Regions from separate parts of the Homo sapiens genome. Here region 2 is linked to region 1. The links are contacts of gene promoters, found by promoter capture Hi-C in human tissues and cell types (Jung and others, 2019). All regions are on one chromosome and are shown on one strand. The core of a region is centred on a gene start or on the middle of the fragment in contact, and the rest is flanking DNA. Distances in the headings are between cores, read along the strand shown.

Region 1 (6,646 bases), core at 1,551-4,050:
GTGCACAGCCCAGATCCACCAGCTCTATGACTGTGGGTAGTCACTCAAATATTTTCCAGACTGGATTTCTCATTTGTAAAATGGAAAAACAAAATGGTTAATATAGTTAAAAGACTTAAAACAGGCTCCATGACTCATGTTGGCAATGTCGATGGCCGCCATTCCTGCTCTAACCTGCTTGCCCATCCCAGGCACACAGGAGGTCTGCAGTGAGCTGAGCCCCTCTAGCCACTGGGGGCACTTTCTTCTGTGTCCCTAGGACCCTGCCTGTTCATCAACCCCTGGCTTTGCTCCCTGAGCCTAAGAAGGATGGAACCACCAGCAGGTGAGGTCTGTCCTTGCAGAGGTAGTGGGGATTTTGGGGGATGCACCCTACGCGAATGAAGCTGTAGGACCAGGTGCCTGAATCCCCTGGCTGATTGAGCTGGCAGGGGTGGTGGGGTGGGGGTGGTCTAGGGGCTCCCCAGTACCCAGCCAGTGTCAGGAGTACTGTCTTCCCCACCCTCCTGCTCAGCAGTTCTGCTAGGAGCCCCCTCCTTCAAGCGCCCCCCTCACCTGAGTCCACCCCACAGGACAATTCAGGACAGGATCTAGGGAGGGCCAGGAGGGGAGCCCTGGATCTGTTGGGAGGAGAATCCTGCATGTGGGAGAAGGAGCCAGGTGCTGATCCAAGGGCCTCAAGATATTTCCCCTTTGGGGCTATCACACTGCCTGAGATTACTCCATTATAAATGTCCCTATATTAATATGGCATTGACACTAAAGAATGGGGGTGGAGCAGCATGGCAGAGGGAACGGATTTGGACTTGAGGGTCTCATAGTCTTGAGTTCCTATGAGCTCTGCAACTTGGACTAGAGGCCTGCCCTCTCTGAGCCTCAGTTTGCTTTTGTGTTAAATGGACACCTTCTCTCCTCTGGATGCCATCACTCAGGTCTCTTCAACAATGCCCAGGGTTCTGGCCTAGGGAGCTGTTGGGAGGGTGGTGGGACAGCTTTGGGCACTGTGATGCAGGTGAGCATCTGATACAAGCAGGTGCACGTTATATAGAGCACCTGGCACATAGTAGGTGCACCTTATGTAGAGCACCTGGCACACAGTAGGTGTACTTTATGTGGCGTACCTAGCACATAGTAGGTACACTTTATGCGGCATACCTGGCACACAGTAGGTGCTCTTTATGTAGCATATCTGGCACACAATAAGGCACACTTTATATAGTGTACCTGGCACACAGTATGTGTGCTTTATGTCAAGTATGTTGCACCGAGTAGTTTTACTTTATGTAGGGGACCTAACACACGGGAGAAGCATTTTATGTGGAACATCTGGCACACAGTAGGTGTGCTTTATTTAGAGCACCTGGCACACAGCAAGCATGGTTTATATAAAGGGCCAGGGACTCAAGATACAGGATTTGTGAAGGGCTCCCAGCATACAGTAGACAGTATTTATGTGGAGCTCCTGGCACACAGTAGGTGCACTATATGTAGAATAGCCAGCACACAGTAGACAAGATTTATGTAGATTACTTGATGCAGAGTAGGTGCGCTTTCTGTGGGTCACCAGGTACGTAGTACACATGCTCAATGTGGAGCACCTGACACACAGTAGGTATGCTTTATATACAGCACATGGCACAGAGTAGGCACGCTTTATATGAAGTACTCTGCATAAAGTAAGCTTACATTATGTACAGCATGCTGCACACAGTAGGTGAGCTTTATGTGGCATACCTGGCACATAGTAGACAGAATTTATGTACAGTATCTGATACACAGTAAGTGCACTTTATATAGTGAAACTGGCACACAGTAGGTGCACACAGTAGTGCTTTCCGTACAGTCTTTCGCATGGAGTAGAGACAGGCACACAGCAGCTCAAGTGCTAGTTGTCATCCCCTTCCCTTCAGTCCCTCTTTTTGGAGCTCCCTTTTCTTAGGAGCCTTCCTCCGTCGCCCTCTAAGGCCTCATCTGACATCCCATTTCCCAGATGGGAAGCCTGAGCCCAGGATGGCCACACTGCCCACAGTCAGAGAAAGGACAGGGCAGAACAAGGACTCCACTCGGGATCCCCTTGCTCTGCCCTCCCCTGCCTGGACCCCGTCAGCTCAAGGCCCCTCTCAGCCTCATCCCCTGTGCCTCCGCTCTGTCCTCCTAAGCTGAGCCCAGCTTCTAGGTTTGCTCCTCCAGCTGGGCTCTTTATCCCCAGAATCTGACGAAGGTAATCCTCAGCGGGGTTGGGGCTGGATTCTTTCTTCCTGCTTCAAGCAGTCAGGCCTCAACTCAGGCCCTGGGCTGCCAGGAGGCAGGACTTGAACTCTTGCCAGGCTGTGAAGCCAGAGATGAGAGGCTTCTGTCTCTGAATCTCCTAAGTCTGCACCAAGATGTAGTGCCTGACATCCTCCCCGCCCATGTTTGGAGAGGAGCCCAGATGATCTGGGACAAGGGTTGGCCTGGCCCAGCTCAGCTGGCTGCCAACTGTCATGATAAGTATATGCTTTTATCTGAACACCCTTGTCTTGGAAGGGCAGGGTGGAGGTAAACTTGGGGTTCAGAGTCCCCTCTAACCACCCTCCAACTTCCCCTGCAAACTCCCAAGAAGGTACTGAGACCTGAGAATTCAGTGCTCGTGCTGGGGCACCCTGAGCTGCACCCAGTGGGCCCAACCCCAGGTTTTGGCTGGCTGCCCAGGCACGGAAGACACACCCAGGCTGTGGGGATTGGCTGCCTCAGCCCAGCCCAGCCCAGCCCCGCCTCCTACGGCCTTCCCTAGATCAGGGGCCAGGGCCAAAGACCTCCCAGCAGAAGAGGAGAAGAGGTTGTGTGGGACAAGCTGCTCCCGACAGAAGGTACCAGGCTGGGGGTGGCAGGGCTGGAAGGTCCTGGCCTGGGATGAAGAGGGGACTGCCTAAGGCTGGGGTGGCTCCAAGATGCTGGCATGGGAAACTGGGGGTTTCCTGGTAACTGGACTCCTAGCAAACTCCCAAGGATTCAGGTGGGGCCCTTCTGGACTCTAATCGGCCCATCTCTTTCCCTTTCTGTGTGGTTACCAGGTTACTGGAGGCCACTTAGTTGTTGGTTTTGGTTGGGACTTTCTGGACTTCAGATCTCAGCCCTCGTTTACTCACCCCTGAGCCCTCCCTGCCCTGCCCCCAGCAGTTCCTGACTTCGCCCCTATACACTGTCCCCGGAGCTCTTCCCTGGGCCTCAGGTCCTCACCCTGCATCCCCTCTGCCCTGCAGGATGTCGCTGCTGAGCCTGCCCTGGCTGGGCCTCAGACCGGTGGCAACGTCCCCATGGCTACTCCTGCTGCTGGTTGTGGGCTCCTGGCTACTCGCCCGCATCCTGGCTTGGACCTATGCCTTCTATAACAACTGCCGCCGGCTCCAGTGTTTCCCACAGCCCCCAAAACGGAACTGGTTTTGGGGTCACCTGGGCCTGGTGAGTGTGACAGCAAAATGTGTCTGGGGTCTCAGGGTGGATGGACTTCCAGAGGAGCAGGAATGGGGCTCAGTGAGCTAGGTATTGATGGTGGCTGGGGTCTGCGACCCCAGAGAAGCAAGAGAGATGGCTCACTCATTCCTCTGCTAACTCACTCATTCCTCTACCCACTCACTCCTCTACCCACTCACTCACTCCTCTACCCACTCACTCACTCCTCTACCCACTCACTCATTCCTCTACCCACTCACTCATTCCTCTACCCACTCACTCCTCTACCCACTCACTCACTCCTCTACCCACTCACTCACTCCTCTCCTCACTCACTCATTCCTCTCCTCACTCACTCATTCCTCTACCCACTCACTCACTCCTTTCCTCACTCACTCACTCCTCTCCTCACTCACTCATTCCTCTCCTCACTCACTCATTCCTCTCCTCACTCACTCATTCCTCTACCCACTCACTCACTCCTCTACCCACTCACTCAATCCTCTACCCACTCACTCACTCCTCTACCCACTCACACATTGCCCTCCTCACTCACTCATTCCTCTCCTCACTCACTCATTCCCCTCCTCACTCATTCCTCTCCTCACTCACTCATTCCTCTACCCACTCACTCATTCCTCTCCTCACTCACTCATTCCTCTACCCACTCACTCATTCCTCTCCTCACTCACTCATTCCTCTCCTCACTCGCGCATTCCTCTCATTCGCGCATTCCTCTCATTCACTCATTCCTCTCCTCACTCACTCATTCCTCTCCTCACTCTTATTCGTCTGCTCACTCACTCATTCCTCTGCTCACTCATTCCTCTCCTCATTCACTCCTTCCCCTCATCACTCACTCATTCCTCTGCCCACTCACTCATTCCTCTACCCATTCACTTATTCCTCTATCCACTCACTTTTTGCTCTCCCCACTCACTCATTCCTCTCCTCACTCACTCATTCCTCTCCTCATTCACTGATTCCTCTACCCACCGACTCATTCCTTTCCTCATTCATTCATTCCTCTGCAGTTCCATGCCAAACCTTTCTCACCTCCCTGTCCTCCCACCTCAGCCTGCTTGGATCCTTTTCCTGCCTGTCTTCCCTACCGTAGTGCCCCTCCCAGAGGCTCCTGTATGGTTGTGGGGTGCACAGAGCAGGGCTCTCCTGGCATTCCCACCTTCTCCACTGCTGGACTTGAAGCCTTCTGAGCCCCGATAGACAGGCTGCTCCCTGCATGGCCCATTTGCTTGTATCTGCCCATCTCTGGGCTGCTGCTTTCCCGCAGGAATTATCTCTGACTTCCTTCCCCACGGAGGGACACAGCTGGACCAGAAGAGAAGTGCAGGCAGTCTCCCACACCCTCTCCTTCCAGGGACAATGTGCTCTTCCCCAGTAAGATGTCCCAGTGAGCCCTGTAGCCCAACCTGGATATAATTTGGCCACTCCCTTCCCCTTTCAGAAGCCGTCCTTGGTACTCCCAAACCTTTCCCTCCGACTGGGACCGGCCCTCCCCTTTGGGGGATGTGGCCTCTGTCTGCTCACTTACAAAAGGCAGGATTGATCGGTGTGTCCACAGGTGCACAGGAGGCACTAGCACAGAACCTGGCATAAGTGAGGCTCTCCTAGGTGGGAGCTGCCATCCTGATGGACATTAGAGTCACCTCTGCTCCCCTGGAGGCTGCTGAGAATGGAGGGCCCTCAGGACGCAGGCCCTTTGTCTGTGGGAGGAACCAGTGCCCATGTGGACCAACCAGGACACAAAAGGATATGGCAACCAGCTCTAGGGATATGTCCTGAGGCCACACTGCTGCCCACAAACCTCCTTCCATGGGGACCTTCCCATATAGCAATCCCCAGATTGAAATCAATCCAGGATGAGAAAACACATCCTCTTGAGCAGACAGCTTGTCTTCTCTCTCTGCTTTGGTATTTACCCTTGGATCTTGGGGACAGCTCCAAGAGAGAAGGAGCAGAAGTCAGCAGAAACCCACTGCAGCTGCTGAGAATCCAGACACGCTGCTCACTGCAGAGGCTGCACCACATCCGGTGGCTGTGGGGGGACTTGCTGTGGCTTCATCTAGGGAGGTGCATTAGTCAGGGTTCTCCCTAGAAACGGAATCTCCTTAGAAACAGATAGGGTGTTTCTTCTTATCTCTAATGCATGTATGTATGGAGACAGAAAGAGATAGAGAGATAAGAATTTATTATGGGAATTGGATAATGTGATGATGGAGGCCAAGAAGTCCCATGATATATCATCTGCAAGCCAGAAACCAGGGACACTGGTGGTGTAAATTCAGCCTGAGTCCAGAAAGGCCTGAGTCCCTGGAGTTCTGAGGGCAGGAGAAGACGGATATCCCAGCAGCAGAAGAGAGAGCAAGTTCTTCCTTTCCTCTGCCTTTTGTCCTGTTCATGCCCTCAATGGATTGGATGGGGTCTGGCGTCTCAGGGTGGGTGGACTTCCAGAGGGGTGGGACTTCCAGTAGGGGTTCAGGGAGCTGTGTATTGATGGTGGCTGGGGTCTGGGAACCCAGAGAACCAAGGGAGACGGCTCACTCATTCCTCTCCTCACTTACTCATTCCTGTGCCCATTCACTCATTCCTCTCCTCACTCACTCATTCTAATACCAACTCACTCATTCCTCTCCTCACTCACTCATTCCTCTCCTCACTCACTCATTCCTGTGCCCATTCACTCATTCCTCTCCTCACTCACTCATTCCTCTCCTCATTCAGTCATTCCTGTCCTCACTCACTCATTCCTTTTCTCACTCATTCATTCCTCTCCTCACCCACTCATTCCTCTGCCCACTCACTCATTCATATCCTCACTCACTCATTCCTCTACCCACACTCATTCCTCTCCTCACTAATTCCAATACCAACTCACTCATTCCTCTCCTCACTTACTCATTCCTCTATCCATTCACTCATTCCTCTCCTCACTCACTCATTCCTCTGCTCACTTAGTCATTCCTCTCCTCACTCAACTCATTCCTCACTCACTCATTCCTCTCCTCACTCACTCATTCCCCTCCTCACTCACTCATTTCTCTCCTCACTCATTCATTCCTTTACCCACTCACTCATTCCTCTACCCACTCACTCATTCCTCTCCTCACTCATTCCCTTCCTCCCATTCCTTTACCCACTCACTCATTCCTCTCCTCACTCACTCATTCCTCTCCTCACTTACTCATTCCTCTCC
Region 2 (6,646 bases), core at 2,588-5,087, 260 kb after region 1:
GGTTTCAACCTGGGGATGGCCACATGGAAAAGTCCGCATGGAAGGAGGTCTGTGGACAGCAGTGTGGCCTCAGGACATGTCCCTGAGGCTGGTTCCTACATCCCTTTCACGTCCTGGCTGGTCCCCACCAGCGGCTGTTCCTCCCACACTGGGGACATTCCATTCTCAGCAGCCCCCAGGCGTAGAGGAGTGACTCTTAACTGTCTACAGTAAGCACCTCCTGCAGGCCAGGCTCTGTGCTAGTGTGTCCTATTCACCCTCCACTGCACCGATGGACACGCCCATCAATTTTGCCATTTACAAGTGAGCAGACCAAGGCCATGTCCCCCAAATGGGAGAGCAGGTCTAAGTCGGAGGCCAAGGTCTGCGGAGTCAAGGACAGCTTCTGAAAAGAGAAGGGAGTGGCCAACTTTTATTCAGGCAGGTAACAAGGCCGACTGGGACATGTTAGTGAGGAAGAGCAAGATAGGAGGAAGGTGCCTCCAGAAAAGGAGGCAGCGGGAGACTGCCCACACTTCTCTTCTGGACCCTCTGTGTCCCTGCGTATGGAAAGGGGCTCAGAGCTAATTCCTGTGAGAAAGCAGCAGCACAGAGATGGGCAGACACAAGCAAATGGGCCAGGCAGGGAGTAGTCCCTGGACAGTAGACTCAGGAGGCCTCAAGTCCAGCAGTGGAGAAGGTGCAAATGCCAGGAGATCTTTGCTCTGTGCACCCATACCACTCCCACAGGAGACCCTCAGAGGTGCAGTAACACAGGGAAGACAGGCAGGAAAAAGATCCAAGCAGGCTGGAGTGGGAGGACAGGGAGGTGAGAAAGACTTGGGATGGCACATCAGAGGAATGAGTGAGCGGGGAGAGGAATGAGTGAGCGAGGAGAGGAATGAGTGAGCGAGGAGAGGAATGAGTGAGTGAGGAGAGGAATGAGTGAGCGAGGAGAGGAATGAGTGAGCGAGGAGAGGAATGAGTGAGCGAGGAGAGGAATGAGTGAGCGAGGAGAGGAATGAGTGAGCGAGGAGAGGAATGAGTGAGCGAGGAGAGGAATGAGTGAGTGAGGAGAGGAATGAGTGAGTGAGGAGAGGAATGAGTGAGTGAGGAGAGGAATGAGTGAGTGAGGAGAGGAATGAGTGAGTGAGGAGAGGAATGAGTGAGTGAGGAGAGGAATGAGTGAGTGAGGAGAGGAATGAGTGAGTGAGGAGAGGAATGAGTGAGTGAGGAGAGGAATGAGTGAGTGAGGAGAGGAATGAGTGAGTGAGGAGAGGAATGAGTGAGTGAGGAGAGGAATGAGTGAGTGAGGAGAGGAATGAGTGAGTGAGGAGAGGAATGAGTGAGTGAGGAGAAGAATGAGTGAGTGAGGAGAGGAATGAGTGAGTGAGGAGAAGAATGAGTGAGTGAGGAGAGGAATGAGTGAGTGAGGAGAAGAATGAGTGAGTGAGGAGAGGAATGAGTGAGTGAGGAGAAGAATGAGTGAGTGAGGAGAGGAATGAGTGAGTGAGGAGAGGAATGAGTGAGCGAGGAGAGGAATGAGTGAGCGAGGAGAGGAATGAGTGAGCGGGGAGAGGAATGAGTGAGTGGGGAGAGGAATGAGTGAGTGAGGAGAGGAATGAGTGAGCGAGGAGAGGAATGAGTGAGCGAGGAGAGGAATGAGTGAGCGAGGAGAGGAATGAGTGAGCGGGGAGAGGAATGAGTGAGCGGGGAGAGGAATGAGTGAGTGAGGAGAGGAATGAGTGAGCGAGGAGAGGAATGAGTGAGCGGGGAGAGGAATGAGTGAGCGGGGAGAGGAATGAGTGAGTGAGGAGAGGAATGAGTGAGTGAGGAGAGGAATGAGTGAGTGAGGAGAAGAATGAGTGAGTGAGGAGAAGAATGAGTGAGTGAGGAGAGGAATGAGTGAGTGAGGAGAGGAATGAGTGAGTGAGGAGAGGAATGAGTGAGTGAGGAGAGGAATGAGTGAGTGAGGAGAGGAATGAGTGAGTGAGGAGAGGAATGAGTGAGTGAGGAGAGGAATGAGTGAGTGAGGAGAGGAATGAGTGAGTGAGGAGAGGAATGAGTGAGTGAGGAGAGGAATGAGTGAGTGAGGAGAGGAATGAGTGAGTGAGGAGAGGAATGAGTGAGTGAGGAGAGGAATGAGTGAGTGAGGAGAGGAATGAGTGAGTGAGGAGAGGAATGAGTGAGTGAGGAGAGGAATGAGTGAGTGAGGAGAGGAATGAGTGAGTGAGGAGAGGAATGAGTGAGTGAGGAGAGGAATGAGTGAGTGAGGAGAAGAATGAGTGAGTGAGGAGAGGAATGAGTGAGTGAGGAGAGGAATGAGTGAGTGAGGAGAGGAATGAGTGAGTGAGGAGAGGAATGAGTGAGTGAGGAGAGGAATGAGTGAGTGAGGAGAGGAATGAGTGAGTGAGGAGAAGAATGAGTGAGTGAGGAGAGGAATGAGTGAGCGAGGAGAGGAATGAGTGAGCGGGGAGAGGAATGAGTGAGTGGGGAGAGGAATGAGTGAGTGAGGAGAGGAATGAGTGAGTGAGGAGAGGAATGAGTGAGTGAGGAGAGGAATGAGTGAGCGGGGAGAGGAATGAGTGAGCGAGGAGAGGAATGAGTGAGTGAGGAGAGGAATGAGTGAGTGAGGAGAGGAATGAGTGAGTGAGGAGAAGAATGAGTGAGTGAGGAGAAGAATGAGTGAGTGAGGAGAGGAATGAGTGAGTGAGGAGAGGAATGAGTGAGTGAGGAGAGGAATGAGTGAGTGAGGAGAAGAATGAGTGAGTGAGGAGAGGAATGAGTGAGTGAGGAGAAGAATGAGTGAGTGAGGAGAGGAATGAGTGAGTGAGGAGAAGAATGAGTGAGTGAGGAGAGGAATGAGTGAGTGAGGAGAAGAATGAGTGAGTGAGGAGAGGAATGAGTGAGTGAGGAGAAGAATGAGTGAGTGAGGAGAAGAATGAGTGAGTGAGGAGAGGAATGAGTGAGTGAGGAGAAGAATGAGTGAGTGAGGAGAGGAATGAGTGAGTGAGGAGAAGAATGAGTGAGTGAGGAGAAGAATGAGTGAGTGAGGAGAGGAATGAGTGAGTGAGGAGAAGAATGAGTGAGTGAGGAGAGGAATGAGTGAGTGAGCAGAGGAATGAGTGAGTGAGGAGAAGAATGAGTGAGTGAGGAGAAGAATGAGTGAGTGAGGAGAGGAATGAGTGAGTGAGCAGAGGAATGAGTGAGCGAGAAGAGGAATGAGTGAGTGGGCAGAGGAATGAGTGAGCGGGGAGAGGAATGAGTGAGCGGGGAGAGGAATGAGTGAGCGGGGAGAGGAATGAGTGAGCGGGGAGAGGAATGAGTGAGTGGGCAGAGGAATGAGTGAGTGGGCAGAGGAATGAGTGAGCGGGGAGAGGAATGAGTGAGTGGGCAGAGGAATGAGTGAGCTGCCTCCCTCTCTTCTCTGTGTTCCCACACCCCAGCCACCCTCAAAACCCAGCTCCCTGAGCCCCATTCCTGCCCCTCAGGAACTCCATGCATCCTGAGACCCCAGACCCGTCCTGCTGACAAACTCACCAGGCCCTGGTGTCCCCAAAACCAGTTCTGTTTCGGGGGTTGAGGAAAACACTGGAGGCGGCGGCAGTTGTCATAGAAGGTGTAGGTCCAGGCCAGGACGCGGGCCAGGAGCCAGGAGCCTCCAACCAGCAGCAGAAGCAGCCACGGGGATGCTGCCACGGGCCCGAGGCCCAGCCAGGACAGGCTCAGCTGCGGCATCCTGCAGGGCAGACGGGATGGAGGGTGGGATCCTGAGGCCCAGGGAAGGGCCCAGGAAGCTCCAAGGACAGTGGAAAGGGGCAAGGATGGGCAGTGCTGGAGGCAGATCAGGGAAGGCTCTGAGATGGGTAAACAAGAGCTGAGATCTAAAGTCCAGAAATGCCCAATGAAAACCAGCAGCCAAGTGGCCTCCAGTTACACAGAAAGGGAAAGAGAGAGAGAGGCTGATTAGAATCCAAAAAGGCCCAGCCTGAATCACTGGGAGGTTGCCAGGGGTCCAGTTACCAGGAAATCACCAGTCTCCCAGGCCAGCAGCCTTGACCCACCCCAACCTTGGGCAGTCCCCTCCCCATCCCAGGCCAGGACCCTCCAGCCCTGCCACTGCCAGCCTGGCTCCTATCAGAAGCAGCTTGTCCCACATACCCTCCTCTCCCCCTCTGCTAGGAGGTCTTTGCCTCTGGCCCCTGATTTCCGGAAGGCTGTGGGAGGCGAGGCTGGGCTGGGCTGGTCGAGCCAATCCCCATGGACTGGGTGTGTCTTCCAAGCCTGGGCAACCAACCAAAACCTGGCGTAGGGCCAGCTGGGTGCAGAGGAGCCAGCTCAGGGTGACACAGCATGGGCACAGGATCCGCAGGTCTCAACATCTCACACCTGAGTGGGAGGGGATCTTGAGGAAGAGTCAAAGGTGACTCTGAGCCCCAAAGTTTACAGCCACCTTGCCCTTCCAAGGCAAGAGTGTGGCAGATAAAGTCATGAACTTGAGAGTTCAGGTGGCAAGAGAGTGGGGCCAGGCCAACCATTGTGCCAGATCATGTTCTGAGCTCCTCTCCACATGTGGTCCAGGAGTTCATCATGCACCATTTCTCAGTGCAGACTTAGGAGATTCAGAGACAGAAGCTCCTGGCCTCTGGCTTCACAGTCTGGCAGGAGTTCAAGTCCTGCCTCCAGGCAACCCAGGGCCTGGGTCGAGACATGACTGACAGGAGTAGGAACAAACTATCTAACTGTGCTGGGGATTACCCGGTCAGATTTTAGAGATAAAGAGCCCCGCTGGAGGAGAATACCTGGAGGCTAGGTTCAGCATAGGAGGACAGAGAGGGGAGATGGGAGGTAAGGCTGAGAGGGGCCATGAGTGGATGGGGCCAGGGACAGGAGGGCAGAGATGGGGGACCCTGAGTGGAGTCCTTATTCTGCCCTCCCCTTGCCCTAACTGTGGGTAGTGAGCCCCTCCTGGACTCAGGCTTCCCATCTGGGAAATGGGATGTCAGATAAGGCCTTAGAGGGGGACAGAGGAGGGATCACAGGAAAATGGGCCTTAGATGGGGACAGATGAAAGATTCTGAGGAGGGAGTGAAGGGAAGGGGCTGGCAGCTAGCACTTTAGCTGCTGTGTGTCAGTCTCTGCTCTTTGCAAAAGACAATATGCAAAGTTCTTTTACTGTGTACTGGACTCTAAATAAAGCACACCTACCATGTGCCAGGTACTCTGTATACATGTTGTGTACTGTGTGCCAAGTGCTCTATGAAAAGTGTGTCCACTGTGTGCTGGGCGCTCTACAGAAAATCTTGCTTCTTTGTTCTCGGTCCTCTATATAAAGTGAAATTTGTGCGGAGTAACTTATGTAAAGTGTACCTACTCTGCACCTGCTGCTCTATATAAAACACACCTACTGTGTGTCAGATGTTCTATGTAGAGCATGTTTACTACGTGCCTGGTGATCTATGTCAAGTGCACCTACTGTGTGTCAAGTGCTCTACATAAAGCGTGCCTACTCTGGGTGCTGGGTACTCTTCATAAACTGTGACTCCATGTGTCCGGTACTCTACATAAAGCACACCTACTGTATGCCAGATGCTCTACATAAAGTGTTCTTTCTGTGTGTCAAGTGCTCTACATAAAGCGTGCCTACTCTGGATGCTGGGTACTCTTCATAAACTCTGACTCTGTGTGGCCGGTACTCTACATAATGCACACCTACTGTGTGCCAGATGCTCTATATAAAGTGTTTTTTCTGTGTGTCAAGTGCTCCACATAAAGTAAAACTACTCTATGTAAAGTTCTTGACATAAAGAATGCCTACTGTGTGCAAGGCACTCTCCACAAAGCACTCCTACTATGTGGCAGGGGCTCTAGGTAAAGCATGCCTACTGTGTTCCACCTACTCTAGGTCAAGTGCACCTGCTCATGTCAGATGCTCACCCGCGTCACCATGCCCAAAGCCTTCACACCAACCTCCCCTCGGTTCTCTGAGCCAGAGCCCTGGGATTGTTGGAGAGACCTGAGTGATGGCATCCAGAGAAGGGAATGCATCCATTTAACAAAAGAGCAAACTGAGTCTCAGAGAGGGCAGGCCTCTAGCCCAAGTTACAGAGCTCACAGGAAGCCAGGTTTGTGAGATCCTCAAGCCCAAACCTTTTTCCTCTGCCATGCTGTTCTGCACCCATTCATTAGGGTCAATGCCATATTAATACAGGGACATGTATAAATGGAGGAATCTCAGGCAATGTCATGGTCCCAGAGGGGAAATATCTTGAGGTCTTTGAATCAGCACCTGGCTCCTCCTCCCACACCCCGGATGCTCCACCCAGCAGACCCAGGGCTCCCCTCCTGGCCCTCCTTGTATCCTGTCCAGAATTGCCCTGCCGGGTGGACTTGGGTGAGGGGGTGCTTGAAGGATGGGGCTCCTAGCACAGCTGCTAAGCAGGAGGGCAGGGAAGACAGTGCTCCTGACACTGGCTGGGTGTTGGGGAGCCCCAAAGCCTCCCCCACCCCACCACCACTGCCAGCTCAATCAACCAGGGGATTCAGGCTCCTGGCCCTACAGCCTCAGTGGGGTAGGGTGCATCCCCCAAAATCCCTACTCCCTCTGCAAGGACAGACCTCACCTACTGGCAGTTCCATCCCTGTTAGGCTCAGGGAGCAAAGCCAG

What was found. Contacts are between HindIII fragments. The study calls those that stand out against the background at their distance.
Region 2: the fragment with the promoter of CYP4F11 here is called in contact with the fragment with the promoter of CYP4F12 in region 1 in 4 of the 25 tissues and cell types used here (IMR-90 fibroblasts, lymphoblastoid cells, small bowel and 1 more).

The regions. Positions count from the first base shown.
Region 1 is chr19:15,670,287-15,676,932 of GRCh38, forward strand. CYP4F12 (cytochrome P450 family 4 subfamily F member 12) reads left to right here and starts at 2,801. Exons shown (of 13, transcript NM_023944.4): 1 at 2,801-2,849; 2 at 3,243-3,441. The coding sequence starts at 3,244. The HindIII fragment of the contact is 17,744 bases long and covers 1-6,646 here.
Region 2 is chr19:15,930,692-15,937,337 of GRCh38, forward strand. It overlaps CYP4F11 (cytochrome P450 family 4 subfamily F member 11), which reads right to left and starts at 3,838. Exons shown (of 12, transcript NM_021187.4): 1 at 3,520-3,838. The coding sequence starts at 3,717. The HindIII fragment of the contact is 18,991 bases long and covers 1-6,646 here.